2 separate regions of the Homo sapiens genome follow, and region 1 is linked to region 2. The links are contacts of gene promoters, found by promoter capture Hi-C in human tissues and cell types (Jung and others, 2019). All regions are on one chromosome and are shown on one strand. The core of a region is centred on a gene start or on the middle of the fragment in contact, and the rest is flanking DNA. Distances in the headings are between cores, read along the strand shown.

The links. The method cuts DNA at HindIII sites, captures the fragments that hold promoters and counts their contacts. A contact is called where the count stands out against the background at its distance.
Region 1: a contact is called between a fragment that was not itself captured here and the fragment with the promoter of NFIL3 in region 2, in 1 of the 25 tissues and cell types used here (dorsolateral prefrontal cortex).

What each region holds. Positions count from the first base shown.
Region 1 is chr9:90,365,994-90,373,644 of GRCh38, forward strand. The region is part of intron 2 of LINC01508 (long intergenic non-protein coding RNA 1508); the gene reads right to left. Among named protein-coding and RNA genes, the nearest start is that of LINC01508, 64 kb to the right of the region's middle. The HindIII fragment of the contact is 6,140 bases long and covers 1-5,383 here.
Region 2 is chr9:91,418,397-91,425,426 of GRCh38, forward strand. It overlaps NFIL3 (nuclear factor, interleukin 3 regulated), which reads right to left and starts at 5,436. Exons shown (of 2, transcript NM_005384.3): 1 at 5,244-5,436. LOC105376146 (synapsin-1) reads left to right here and starts at 5,637. Exons shown (of 2, transcript NR_188612.1): 1 at 5,637-7,030. It overlaps LOC124902209 (a long non-coding RNA gene), which reads left to right and starts at 3,226. Exons shown (of 2, transcript XR_007061661.1): 1 at 3,226-3,308; 2 at 3,623-3,663. RefSeq lists a silencer at 5,374-5,773. The HindIII fragment of the contact is 26,857 bases long and covers 1-7,030 here.

The DNA of each region.
Region 1 (7,651 bases), core at 1,064-3,563, 1.1 Mb before region 2:
TTTCTACTCAAAATTTATCATACCATTTTAGAACATGATATTATTTTTATAGTTTACATGATCATCATATTATTGCTGGAAATTACATTTCATGATGCTATCTAGTTTATTAATATTCTCTGTGGGTCATTATCCGCAGACTGTTTGCATTGTTTCTACATTCCCAATTATTTTCCTTTCAAGTATCTAGAAAAACATCCGTATAGATAAAAGAATGAAGAATGTGGGGACAAATATTGTGTTAAAATGGTAACATTTGAAGGTAATCTTTCTAATTAAAAAAACCATATTTTTCTTTTTTTTAAAAAAAGAAAATAAAGAGAGGTGTACTACACTTGCATTACATGAGAAAGTGCAAAAAACATATTGATTCAAAAACAAAGAAATGTTCTGTCAGTAAGCTTCCTAATCATGTGTTGTTTGTTGTTCCCGAAAGCATTGCTAATTGGAAAAGGCATTTCCACACACTGTTATCAAAGCAAGAACAATTTTCCTTTTAAGAATTTGTAGCCAGGCGCGGTGGCTCACGCCTGTAATCCCAGCACTTTGGGAGGCCAAGGCGGGCAGATCACGAGGTCAGGAGATCGAGACCATCCTGGCTAACACAGTGAAACCCCATCTCTACTAAAAATACAAAAAACTAGCCAGGCGTGGTGGCGGGCGCCTGTAGTCCCAGCTACTCTGTTCTCTATTTGTAAAGTGTTGTCACCAATACCCACACTGGTCTACTTACAATTGTTTTCAGTACATTTTGCTATCTAAAAAAGCAAATATACTTGCCTTCTTGATTACTTTTATAAAATTGTTTTAAATAAAAGTGTGTACATTTCCTTACTTTGTTAATTTTCTGAAAAGTTTTCTAAGATCCATGAATAAAATCTGTTGGGACTTTTATTGGAATTATACTTAATTGACTTAGTAAGACAATTTGAGGAGAACTGTCACCTCCCAAAACAAGGGTATGCTTATGCCTCTAGATTTATTTAAATCATATTTTCTGTCTTTCCGTGTAATTTCATAATTTGCTCCCTACAATTTTTAAAATTTATGGTTAAGCATATTTCTAGGTACTTTAGACATTTTGTTCTATTTTAAATATGGTTCATTTGTCACATTGTCAATTTTCAAACGTGTTGCTCTTGAGTTACAAGAAACTGGGATGTTGCATATTTCTTTTTTTCTTTTTTTTTTTTTTTTTTTTTTTGAGACGGAGTCTTGCTCTGTCACCCAGGCTGGAGTGCAGTGGCACGATCTCAGCTCACTGCAACCTCCGCTTCCTGGGTTCAAGCGATTCTCCTGCCTAAGCCTCCCAAGAAGCTGGGATTACTAATTATCCTATTGATTAACACTTTTTCGTTTTTTGGTGGTTATTCTCATAGAATGTTGCATTATCTATGAATAATGATAGTGCTATTGTCTCTTTCGCGCAATATTTACTCTTCTGCTGGCATTTCTTGTCTTACTGTCATGGTTACCTTCTTCAGTGGGGTGTATGTTGACCATTAGCTGGGATAGAGACCATACCTCACTTGTTCATTTTGATTTTCTAATAGAGTATTTTAAATGATTTATGATTAATACTTCATTTGCTAGAGGTGTTTGGTACAAGCATTTCTGAGGTTTAGAAAAGTTTTCACCCATATGTGTTTTCCTTCACACTAATTATTTTCATAATTACTTATTTTTTGTCTCCAAAATTGAGATTTTTTTAGACAGAGCTCTTTTCCCAGATTTACATGTGTGCATATGTTCAGAGATAACCTGCTGAATGCCTCAGAAGCACTTTAAACACAAAAACCCAGGCTTAATATCTTCCTTCTAAATATGTCTGCCTGTTACTTTCTCTGCTCACAGTAGTGGAATTACCATATCCCTGTCACACATGCCAAATTCCAGGCATTAACTTTAAATTTTCATTCACTGAGAAAGAAATGAAGGCATTAGACTGTTGACAGAAATTTGGTAAGCACATTTATAAACAGGTAACATTGAAGCAAACCTCTATGTGTGTGTGCATGCATGTGTGTGTATGCACATGCTTACTTGTGCATATGTATGTATGTAGAGGTATATATAGAAAGAACACATATCAAATTTATGATATTGATCTTTTTTCTGAAGAGGGAAATTGAAGTGGAGACAAAAACAAAGGCATCTTAAAGTATACATAAGCTAATATCCCTTTTTAAAAATGAAGATCTAAAACAAATTATTCTGGGTGGAGGTATAAGGATGATTATTATAATATTGTCTGTATTTTATATTAAGATATTTCTAAAGAAAAATTCCAAATCAAAGACCACAGTGGATTTTGACTAAAATATGAGAGTATTAAAAGAATGTAGGCAGGTGAATATGAAATAGGAATGTGAGCCAGGGGCTGACATCATTGAAATGCAAATATGTGTGTGGCACAGCTTCAACTGTTACAAGGTTCTTAATAACTCTGCTTATCTCTTCTAGAATTCTTAGCCTGATATTTCTTAAAAAGAACTGCCAGCTTCAGGTTCCCACAAAGTATGCAGATTCTGGCTAAATTATTCACTCCCACTGTTTACAGAATGTACCTGTCACTCTTCACCTACACTCATGTGTGGATTTGCATTGTCTAAGAGGATAGCTTCTCATTTAGTAAGTGCTTATTAAGCCAAGCATAAATTACAATAATTTCTTAATTATATTTAGTACTCAGGTATAAAAGAGCCTTTTGTTGAAGAATTTTAGAGATCAAGGGGATAAAGACAACTAAGTAAATCAACTGTAGCTACAAGCAAATAAATGTCAAACTATTGATTTTTCTCTCTCTCTCTTCTTTGCAGTTTTAAAATGCTTATTTACAGAACAAGACTTAGAATGACAGCATGAGGAACTGCATGAACGCTCTTCCAATCAAATCAACTATCACCAATGAAAACATGTTTTTTAACTATTTCGAATCTCTGGAAATTGTTCTCAGATCAACACCAAGTGAAAATACACATTTATTCAATAAAATCTACCAAATCTTAAGTAGAAACAGCAGATTCCTGTGGTTCCTGAGACTTGCCCACCTCTTGCCTCATTCATCTTCCAACTTAGCATAATGGAAATTCCACCACAAGTCGGCGTGGCCAAGGAGATGGGGCTCCCTCTTCTGCAGGCTCCAAGTTGAGGGCTGCGGTCTCCTCCTTGGACAGGGAGTCTGACAGCATCACTCATCCCCCGCCAGCTCTGTGCTGTAGAGGCTAAATTTCAAGCAAGCATGACTGAGAGGGTTGGGGCTTCCCTCTTACTCCTAGACCAGAGTGTGAAGGTTCTGCCAAGAGCATGACAGGCCAAGAATATTAGGGCCCTGATCATCCTTGGCACATTTCAGTCACAGAGCAAACATTTCTTGCTGGTAGAGTTAATCCAAGAGGACCAGAGGCTGTCACCACAGTCCAGCACACAACTCAAAGCAGTGGCCACTCTGAGAAAAGTGGCTCAATCCCTGAGCAGGGGCTCCGAAACTTAGCCCAAGTGGAGAGGCAGGTCACAGAACAGAGTTCCAAAGCTTTCCACAAAGAGACTAACATTATTTAGAAAAGAATATGGAGAAATTCATGCCTAAGTGTTCTCTTAAAACCAAAGGTGATTTTGTTGTCAAGCAATGAAGAGGAGGCTGTTCTCTCCAGGAGAGCAATGGGCTAAACTATAAGCTCGTTAATTTACTAGGGAGAACCAGAGAATGACACAGCTTTCCTTACTGTCCTTTGAGAACAAACCTCAAAGACTGGTCTCAAAAACTATCCCTAAAAAGAGACAATATTTAATTGACTCAGGCTATAGAGAAAATTATGTTCCAGGGAATTGTCAAAAAAAAAAAGAGTAATCACTTGATAATTAGTAAACCTGGGCTCAAAACCAGTAGAGGCAGACAGCTTGACAGAGGGACAAAGGAAAGCGCTATTCAGAAAGAGCCCACATCCATAGACTGCCATCCTAGGGCAGCTGCGTTCATGTCCACGGTTGTGTGTGCTCTTGGAGAAGTGACATCAGATTCTCCACATAATGAGATCAGTAGACATCACTAAAATAATTCCACCAAGTTGCTAAACAATACACAAGCAGAAGCCATCAAGAGCAAGTCCTAGAAGATGTGGTATGATAAATATCCAAAGTTGCTACAGTGAATTACCTAAAATTCCCAGTTTTCAACAAAAAATATGAAATATTTTTTCTCATACAGGAAGAAGCAGGAAACAGAAACTTCCCATGAGAGGGCCAAATGACAGACTTACTATAAGATTTCAAAGCAGTCATTATAAATATAATTTAAAAATTAAAGGAAATTATTCTCAAAGGAGTAAACAAAAGTATAATGATAATGTCTCATCAAATAGAAGATAATACAATGATAGAAAATATAAAAAATAACAAAATAGAAATTTAAAAATAGAAAAATGTAACTGAAATTTTAAAAAATCACTACAGTGGCTCAAAAGCAGGGTTTAGCTGGCAGAAGTAAAAATCAATAAACTTGAAAATAGATAGATAAAGACTATAAAATCCAAAGAACAGAGAATAAAAAGAACGAAAGAAAAGAACTAAAGCCTCAGAAAAATGTGGGATACCCTTAAGCAGATGACCATTTAATGAGATTACCTGAAAGGAAGGAAAGAGAAAAAGGAGCAGTAAAAATATTTTAAAAAAATAGCTAACATTTTCTGAAATTTGATGTACAACATGAATCTACACATTCAAGAAGCTCAACAAACTCCAAGTAAGAGAAATGTAATGATTTCACACTCAAACTTTTTTTTAAAGAAAAATATTTAAAGCAGAAAAAGATAAGGAACTCATCACGTACAAAGTCTTTTTAATCGAGACTCTTACATGAAAATGAGAGTAAGTTTCCAAAATCGCTGTGAAATAAAAACATTCTCAGATAAACAAAACTTAGGGAATATGTAACTATATGACCTGCCTTACAAGAAATCCTAAAGGAAATCCTGCAATCTGAAAGCAAGTGACTCCAGGTAGTAACATAAATTCACACATGTGCTCACACATGCATACACACACACACACAGGGCACCAATAAATGTAATAATGAAAAGCAGTTTAAGTGCATATTTCTGTTCCTCCATTCTCTTAACTTATTTATAAAGCAGTTGTATAAAACAATATGTTTATAATTTCATCGTTAGGTCTACAATATAGAGAAATGTAATACAGGCATACTTAATTTTGTTGAGTTTCACTTTGTTGCACTTTGCAGATATCTTGGTATTTACACATTGAAGTTTAGTGGCAAGCCGGAGTTGAACAAATCTATCATTGCTATTTTTCCAACAGGATGTGCTCGCTTTGTGTTTCTGTGTCACCTTTTGGTAATTCTTGCAAACTTTCAAACTTTTTTCATTATTATTATATCTGTTATGGTGATCTGTGGTCAGTCACCTTTGATGTTGCTATTGTAATCGCTTTGGAGTGCCACAAATTGCCCCCATATAAGATGGTAAACTTAATCAGTAAATGTTGTATATGTTCTGACTGCTCTACCAACCAGCCGTTCCCATCTCCCTTCTCCTCAGGTCTCCCTATTCCCTGAGACACGATAATATTGAAATTAGTCCAATTAATAACACTACAATGGCCTCTAAGTGTTCATATGAAAGGAAGAGTCACACATATCTCACTTTAATAAGAAAATAAGTAGGCTTAGTGAAGAAGGCCCATTTAAAGTCAACATAGGCTGAAGGTTATGTTTCTTGTGCCAGTTAGCCAAGTTCTGAATGCAAACAGAAAGTTCTTGAAGAATATGAAAAGTGCTACTCTAGTGAGCAAATGAATGATGAGAAAGCAAAGCAGCCTCATTGCTGATATGGACAAAGTTTTGGGGGTCTGCATAGAAGATCAAACCAGGCACAACATTCCCCTAAGCCAAAGTCTCACACAGAGACCTAACTCTCTTCAATTCTATGGAGGCCAAGAGAGTTGAGGAAGCATCATGAGAAAAGTTTAAATCTAGCAGAGGTTAGTTCATGAGGTTTAATATAAAAGAAGCTGCCTCTATAACATAAAAGCACAAGGTGAAGCCACAAGCACTGCTGGAGAAGCGGCAGGAAGTTATCCAGAGTATCTAGCTAAGATAATTGATGAAGGTGGCTACACTAAATGATAGGTTTTTCATGTAGGCAAAACAGCCTTATATATGCTATTGTCATCTCGGACTTTCATAGCTAGAGAGAAGTAAATGACTGGCTACAAAGGTTCACAGGCTGACTCTCTTGATGGGGGCTAATATAGCTGGTAACTTTAAGTTGAAACCAATTCTTATTTATCTCTTGAAAATCCTAGGATCTTTAAAATTTATGGTAAATCTATTCTGTCTGTGCTCTATAAATAAAAAGATAAAGCCTAGATGGCAAAACATCTATTTATAATATGGTTTCTTGAATATTTTAAGCCTTGTATTGAAACCTATTGCTCAGAAAAAAAGATATTTTTTCAAAATATTCCTGCTCATTGAAAATGCACCTAGTCTCACCTAAGAGCTCTGATGGAGATGTACAAAGAGATTAATGTTTTCATGCCTTATAACACATCCATTCTGCAGCCCATGGATCAAGAACTGATTCTGACTTTCAAGTCTTATTATTTAAGAAACACATATTGTCAGATTATAGTTGCCATAGATAGTGATTCTTCTGATGGATCTGGGCAAAGTGAATTGGAAATCTTCTGGAATGGATTCATCATTTTAGATGCCATTAAGAACATTCATGATTCATGGAAGGAGGTAAAAATATCAGTATTAATAGGAGTTTGAAAGAAGTTGATTCCAACCCTCATGGATAATTTGGAGAAGTTAAAGACTTCAGCAGAAGTGACTGCAGATGTGGTAGTAATAGCAAGAGAACTTGAATTAGAAGTGTAGGCTGAAGATGTGACTGAATTGCTGAGTCTCATGATGAAACCTGAACACATGAGTTGCTTCTCAGGGATGAGCATGGAAAATGGTTTCCTGAGATGGAGTCTACTCCTGGTAAAGATGCTGTGAACATTGTTGAAGTGACAATAATGGGATTAGGATGTTACATAAAGCTAATTGATAAAGCAGTGGCAGGGTTTGAGAGGACGGACCTCAATTTCAAAGAAGTTCTACTATAAGTAAAATACTATCAAACAGCATTGCATAATACAGAGAAATCTTTTGTGAAAGGGAGAGTCAATTGATGGGATAAATTTCATTGTTGTCTTATTTTAAGAAGCTTCCACAGCCACCTCACCCTTCAGCAATCACCACCCTGATCAATCAGCAGCCATCAACATCAAGGCAAGATCCTCCACCTGCAGAAAGATTAAGACTCACTAAAGGCTTAGATGATCACTAGCATTTTTTAGCAGTAGAGTATTTTAAAATTAAGGTACATACTTTTTTCATCATAATGCTATTGCACACTTAATAGACTACAGTGTAGTTTAAACATAACTTTTATATGCACTGGGAGATAAAATAAAAAGTGTGTTACTTGCCTTATGGCAATATTGCTTTATTGCAGTGGTCTGAAACCAAACCTACAATATCTCTGGGTATGTATGTGTACCTTACAGTCTCAGTACAGAGGACATTAGTGGCACTAAAGTTGAACTGGGGTAAGGAAGTGACAGCAAATAGTTACTAGAA
Region 2 (7,030 bases), core at 4,186-6,685:
ATAAGTAATACATGCAACATGGTGTAATGATGGCAAAAATGGTGGGCTAAGGGGACAGTCAGGCTGAGAAAATTCTTGAAAGTTTCTAATGATAATGTAGAATCATCCCAACTTGCTTCACTTGGCTTTTTAATTTCTTTTTCCACTTTTCCAGTCAGTGGATGATTATAAATGTCATTTTCTACCTTATGAATAGAGTGGATTTTCAAATGCTTATTTGTAGTGTTTATTTGAAGGCCAGTTAATTACAGTTTAAGACCCCTAAAAAGCTAATTAATAAAAGACATCATGTTCTGATAACTAAAAGGCTTATAAACATCATTCTGAGTCCTATGAAACTGAGTCCTCAAAGCACAGATTAATAACAAATGGCATCTAGCAAATCTCTAGTAAACTTTCTTATCATAAAAACAAGTTTATGCTCTATTATTAAAGCCATATGAGAAACAGTTTTGGGTGTTTTTTTTTTTTTTAACTACAGTAAAGTTACTTACAAAGAAATGTGAAAGATAACTGGGGTAGTAGTAATAAAAATTCATTTTGAAACTGAAAAATTCATATTGTAATGTCTGTGATCAAAGGTCAACGTCTTTCAACATTCTCATACAAGTCCAACCTGGATAGAAATCAACTCAAATATAATTTAGAAAAATAACAGGATATCAAACAATGTATTAAACCCCGTGAAATACAGGCATACCTTACAAAAACAAGAAATGAATATTAAAGGCAATTTCAATTACATTGTTTCTGTTATATTTTGAATTGAATCCCAAGTGTGCTCTCATTCCTCAATACAAATTAAAAATAAACAACTTTAACAGCATCAATGGCATCTGGATTACAATGGAAATCATGAAGTATATGAGTTTAACCTGGGTAAAAATAAAGCCCAGGCAATATGACTGCACCTTTTCCATTCCATGCTGCAATCGCATTTACATCTCGAAATTGACTCTAATGACCAAGGCAAGGTCAACTAGAAAAATCCACTCAGCTGGTGAGTCAGGCACATTGCTCAACGTCCGAAAGGCCTCTCACAAAGGGTTTTAATTTTCAGGCTGTTGCATCACAGTGATGTTATAACTGCACTGCACAAAAATAAGTCTTTAACCCAGAAAAGGAAATTGTTTCAAAAACTACAGTGAGTGTGAGAATACACTTTGTTGAGGTGCAAATTTCCCCATCTGGTTTTCAGGCTCTGCGACCTGGGCTGCAAATTCATTTCTCTGAGTTTCCATTTCCTCATCTATGAAATGTGGATGATAACAGAGCCCCTCAACACTGTGCCTGGCACATGCAGAGTATGTGTTTAGTAAATACTAACTCTTTATCTCTTTTCTGAAGAATGATCAGTATCAAAAGGCAACGATGCCTATCAGTTCCAGGCTGTTTTTGCTGCTCGTGACTCTTACTGAAGCCCTGACCTATGTCGCAAGTGTAAGGGTAAACCAAATGAAAATTTGGTCAAAAGGGTCAAATATCAACAGTTTCACAGGACTGGCCTTAGTTTTCAGGCTACATATACCCCCTACAAGAGAGCTTATCTGTGGGGTCTCACCATCCACTGCTGATCTCAGACCACAAAGTTTTAGATAGAGAAATCATCCAAGCTACAGAAAATGAGTCACAGAATGTGTAAGGGAATTGGAAAAAGCTGAGCTATTAATATGGCAATTGTCACGTCATTCCTGCTACTATAATCGACTCATCTCTCTATTCCTTCAAGCAGCTCCCCAAAACATTAACCCAATGACTTGGGAAGTTTGAGGTTCTGCAATCCTGTCAGGAATTCCCCTCAAACTGAAATTAACATTGAACACGATGGCAAATTAAAAAATATATATATTATTAGAACAAAAAAAGTATCTCAAGAAAGATCTTACAGACTTAATTCCAACACGAATCCTTACTGTTACTGCGAAGAGATTTACAAAGAGAAAAATGAAGGTAAATACACACACACACACACACACACACACACACACACACACAGATTCTGGTTCCTGATCAATAACACAGGAAACATTTATTGAACTCCTCACAACCAACTAAGTCAACAGGTTTTATTCCCTCAGTTTACCCTGGAGAGTGATGGAAATCAGGACAGTGTTGGAAGATAACAAGCTGGGGCCTGGGACCCAGGGTTCTTGTGAGCCCAGGGCCTGCGCTCTTAGGATCTGTACCTCACCGAAACCTGTTCTCTAACTACTGCCTGTAACAGGAGGGAAACTGATTAGGGATAGCGGTGTAGGGTATGATGCCAAAGAAAGCAAGTTTTCGGTCAGTTTTCAACAAAGAGCAGATTGCGTTGATATGCTTCAGGAGAACATCTGTGATGTCTCCATGAATTACTGCATGGGTACAATCTTGGAAGTCTTTATGCGAGGATGAAAGTACTGTAGTTTTACAGTAGGACAGCAGCGTCTATGTGGGCGTTTAGATTTTATTTTGAACTCTGGAGATCAGTGTTCTCTCTCCTCTAGCCTTTGACCACATAAATTAAAGGTTAAAAAAAATCGGCTCAACTCAACTGGCCAAAGTCAAGCTGAGGCCTTCCTTTTAATCACTATCAATACTGGAGCGCCTCCACCCCCAATTTCTGTGGCCGGTGGACGTTTGGAGGTTTTTCTTAAGGTCTTTTTCACTTCAAGAATGGAGACGCGCTTGGTTCCGAAATACAATGAAGACTCTTGGAACAAAGGTGTCTGCAGGTTTCTGAACCTCACCGCAGAACAGGCGCGGAGTCAGGCCCCTGGATTTGCCCTGTTGGAAGGAGGGCCGCGGAGACGCAGGCGCTCCGGGTCGCCCGCGCTGCCCCTGTCTGCCCCGTGCGGGAGCCGGGGTCCCTGGCTCCCTGGCTCCCTGGCTCCCGCGGCCCGGGCGAACCCAGAGCGCACCCGTACGCCGGCCCCGGCCGGTCCCTAGCGCCCGGGCTCCACGGGCCGCGCCCCCACGCGGCGCCTCCCAGAGACCCTCCTCCCTCCGGGTGGGCGGCGCAGCGGGGCCTCGGCGCCGCGAGGACCCCCCGCGCCAGAACAAAGGAATGTGGGGAGGGGGCAGGGAGGAGCTCAGGCCACTGAGCAGCCCCAGTATAACTGCCGTTCGGAGGCGCTTCTCGGTCCCGACCCGAGGTCCCCGCCCGCCACTACCAGACCCGCCCCCAGCCCCGGATTCTCGCAGACCCCACCGGCCCGCAGGAGGGAGCGGCGCACTGGGGGCCGCACGGACTCGCCATTGGAGATCGCGATCGGAAGGTGGCGCCACGCGGCCCCTACAGGCCTGGGACTCCCACCCGAGCTCGCAAAGTAGGTCGGGGTCTGAAGCTGGGGGCCTAGAGCAACTAGCTTCTTGGAAAGCGACTGCAATTATTTGGGGTAATATACTCTGTTCCAGAGACGTCCACCCCCCACCTCCCACAAAAAAAAACCCTGCACTTAATTTAAATGTTACGTTATATATACATCCCATCATATACATATATTCACACATAATCACTATGTAACAGTCCAGGAAGAAATTTAATATTTGGGTAAATTACATATTCACACATCTTCACATAAGTAAAACCAGGGTATCCAGACAAAAAAACAATCTACTAACCTATATCTGTTTCCCATAGGTCATATCTGGTCTGGGGGTAAATAAATACTTCTGACCTCACTTACTGTTGTTATTTACAAAAGCCAAGAACAGAAGATGACACTTGGCCATTCCCTGCTGTTCTCAGAGAACAGCAGTTTCCTAAAGTGTCCTTTAAAAACATAAATGGGAGCCAGCATCCAGCAAATCACCGGGCGCTGCGAAATGCCTTCCTAAAAATACAATCTTATCAAAGGTCTCCGAAGGCGTGGAGTTAAAACTACAGCAAATGGCCTTGAACTTGTATTTGCACACAGCCCTGGAGAAAACACCAGAAATAGCACTGCGAGGCCACAATTGTTAAAATGTGATAGGGCTAAATTTAGAAGAACGTGCGTTTCATTTAGGGCAAAAGACACACATTCGGCAGCATGAGCAAACTCCATGCTTACCCGGTTGTCTACTTTCCTGTTTAAAATATCCTTAAGGAAAAAAAAAAAACTGTTATAGTGACATTCTTAAAGGCTGAGACTGTCCTACTTTCTTTGTAGCAAGATTATAAAATCACGTAATTAGCTCCCTCTCTCTATGCTCACTGCCAGCAAATTCGGCAGTTACATAATGCAACATTTCCAGGAAACTATTATGTGATTTGTCTTGTCGTGTCTGAAAAAGCAATGACAATAAGGTGAGAAAAAGGGCTGATCGAATGGAATGCATTAAAATTAGGAAGGTGGGGAGGTAAACGTCACAATGGTTCGTCCCAGATTTAAAAATAACAGCTGAGAACATTGAAAGGGCGAACCCCAGTAGTACCCAAGATCAGAATTCAATGCGAGCAATTCTTGCTTTTAGGTTTTGTAGTATCGTTTTAAAACCTGTTTATTTGGGACGTAATATAGACGTAAATAACGATCTAATATCCAACGCTGCGCCTCAATTACCAAATCATTGCACACATACGCGCATATTCCCACATCAGCCCGCAATTCTTGCCAACATTTCACCGTGGGCAGATTATGCAATGTATGAAAGGACAAATCCCACAACCTTCCCGAGGGCTTGTAAAACACGCTGACGACAAACAGGGTGGAAAACGTCTGTGCAGACACAGCCCCTGACACAAACAAACGCCGCGCAGGCATTCTCCGAATGCCGTCACCGTTCACGCTACCAACCCTTTTTCTCACCAAGCAAATTAAGACTATTCCCCATTCCTCAACCCCCCATTCCTCTCCCCCCTACGCCGCCAGCCCCAGAGAAGGAACGAGAAAGAAAGACACTAGAGAGGAAAGAGCATCTTCCCGCTCGGAGAGGGCTCAGCCTGCCTGGCGCTCTTCTTTACCAAAACATCAATTTTCCTGAAATCAGGAGACATTATGCAACAGCAGCGGGGGGAGAGCGCAAACCAGCCAGGACTACGTGCCGGCGCGAAGGCGCTGCAATCAAAGCAGCCACCTTAAGGTGGCGAGTCCCATCCTGACAAGGCAGCAAAAGTTTATGTAATGAATGCCCCGCGCGCACTCGCCGCCGCTGGCGAGCCCAGCTTACAGCCCGACCCCGCACACAGCGCGGCCCGCACCCCGCGCCCGCCCGCCCGCCCGCAGCGCGCCCTGGGAGCGGTCGCCGGGCCCCCGGCCGGCGGTGGGCGGAGCGCTTACCGTGTTCCTGCTCTCGGGCCGGCGAGGAGAAAGAAAGGGGCGGCCGGGAGTCGGGCCGCCGGCGCTCGGGGCTCGGGCCGGGCCGGGCCTCCGGGGCCGCGGCGGGAGGCGGGCGGCGGCGAGGGCGCGGCGCGGGAGGCGGGCGGGCGCGCCGGGTCCGCGGGCGCCGTGGCCGCGCGGAGAGATGTGTGTTAGTAGGTCAGTTCCGAGCGCCGCGCTACGTCGCCGCCCGCCAGCCCCGCGTGACTGGCGGCCGCGGCCCCAATCGCCGCGCCCGCACCCGCCCCCGGCCCGCCGCCAATGGCCGCGGCCGGCAGGGGCGGGCCGGGGCGGGCACTCCGCGGCCCCGCCCCGCCTCCCCGCCCTCAGCTCCCCCTCCGCGGCGGCGCCACTACCAGCTCGCGTCCCTCCCCGGCCAGGGCCACCGCCGTCCGAGCGCCCGCGAGGGCTGGCGCCCCATTCCCGGCGCAACGAGTGTTGCGCAACGGCCCACGCGGCCGACACGACCGGAGCGAGCCTGCGGAGGAGCCCGGGAGCCCCCCGTCCCACCGCCCCGTCCGCTCTTGGCTCCCTTCACCCTCCCGGTCGCCGCGGTGGCTCTGCGCTCCCCGCGACCCTCACTTGCTCGCAGAGGCGCTTTTTGTCTTCCTGAGAGCCGCAGCCTGCTGGGCTACCTGTTGCCGACTGAGCACTGCGGGTTGCGGCTACCCGGGCGTGGCCCGGACCTCGGCCTCCCCTTCCCCGCACACTCCCGAGAGGAGCCCTCTACCTTGGGGTGGGCAGGAGGGAAGGCGGGGGGTGGCGGCTGGCAAGCTGCCAACACTCGGGGCGCGCTGCGGCGGGGAAGGGGTTGGCGCGGCCGGGCAGCTGCGCAGGGCTGCGCGGCGGAGGCAGCGATTAAAATGTCCCGGCGCCTCTCCCGAGAGCCGCGACGGCCCGGAGCCGGGAGGGAAAGCTCCACGCACAAACACCGCCCCCTGCACAATTAGGGCGAAGATGACGGCTGCAAAGTTGTTGCGTAACACGACTGGGAAACGAGGCTCGCTGAGGTCCATCTACCCACCCCCGCCACGCGGGTGCGGCGTTCCTCGGAGGATGTGAAGGTCCGCGCTCGGGTGCCCCCGCTGGGACGCCCACTGTCGTTTGGTGCTGGGGCTTGAGACGACCGCGCGGGATCTCTTCCTGTGATTTTGAGCTGATAGCTGCTTAGTGTTATTTCTGCGTCTAACTGGATACGGTAGTCTTCTCTCCCAAATTCCCGGGCTACGGAAGAGACGTAAAAAAATGGAAAAAAGAGCACCTAGCCGCGACTTCTTAAGTCGTCGCGCTAGACTGTCAAGGCACGTGGCACACTCCCTGCGTTTACCGATACACGGATAGTGGTCAGTGCTGGCCTTGGCGAAGGGAGCCATGTTCCCGACAGTGACTCACAGGCTTGCCCAAATACGGAGTGTGGCAGGTGGGCAGGACCTCCACCAGCCAGCTCCCTCCTGGTCTCCTTGAACTACGTGGGGGCTGGGCCGAGTGCCTCCACGACTTTCCACTTCTTTTTGCTCCTTTCGTTTTTAAAAAGCAAAAACCAAAGTAAAGAGAAGAGCAGAGTGAACACCCAGGTACCATCCCTAGTGTCTGCCATGAGCAGCAGATCTATCTACTCGCCAAGATTGTCTTTTCTACCTTTCCCCTTCTTGCACAGTTAATATCATAATAACGCAAGTCATATTTAAAAAATTTTTATCACCTATCAGTTGAGTTTTTGGAAAGCCTTCCAGGGCAGCGTTGTGGTT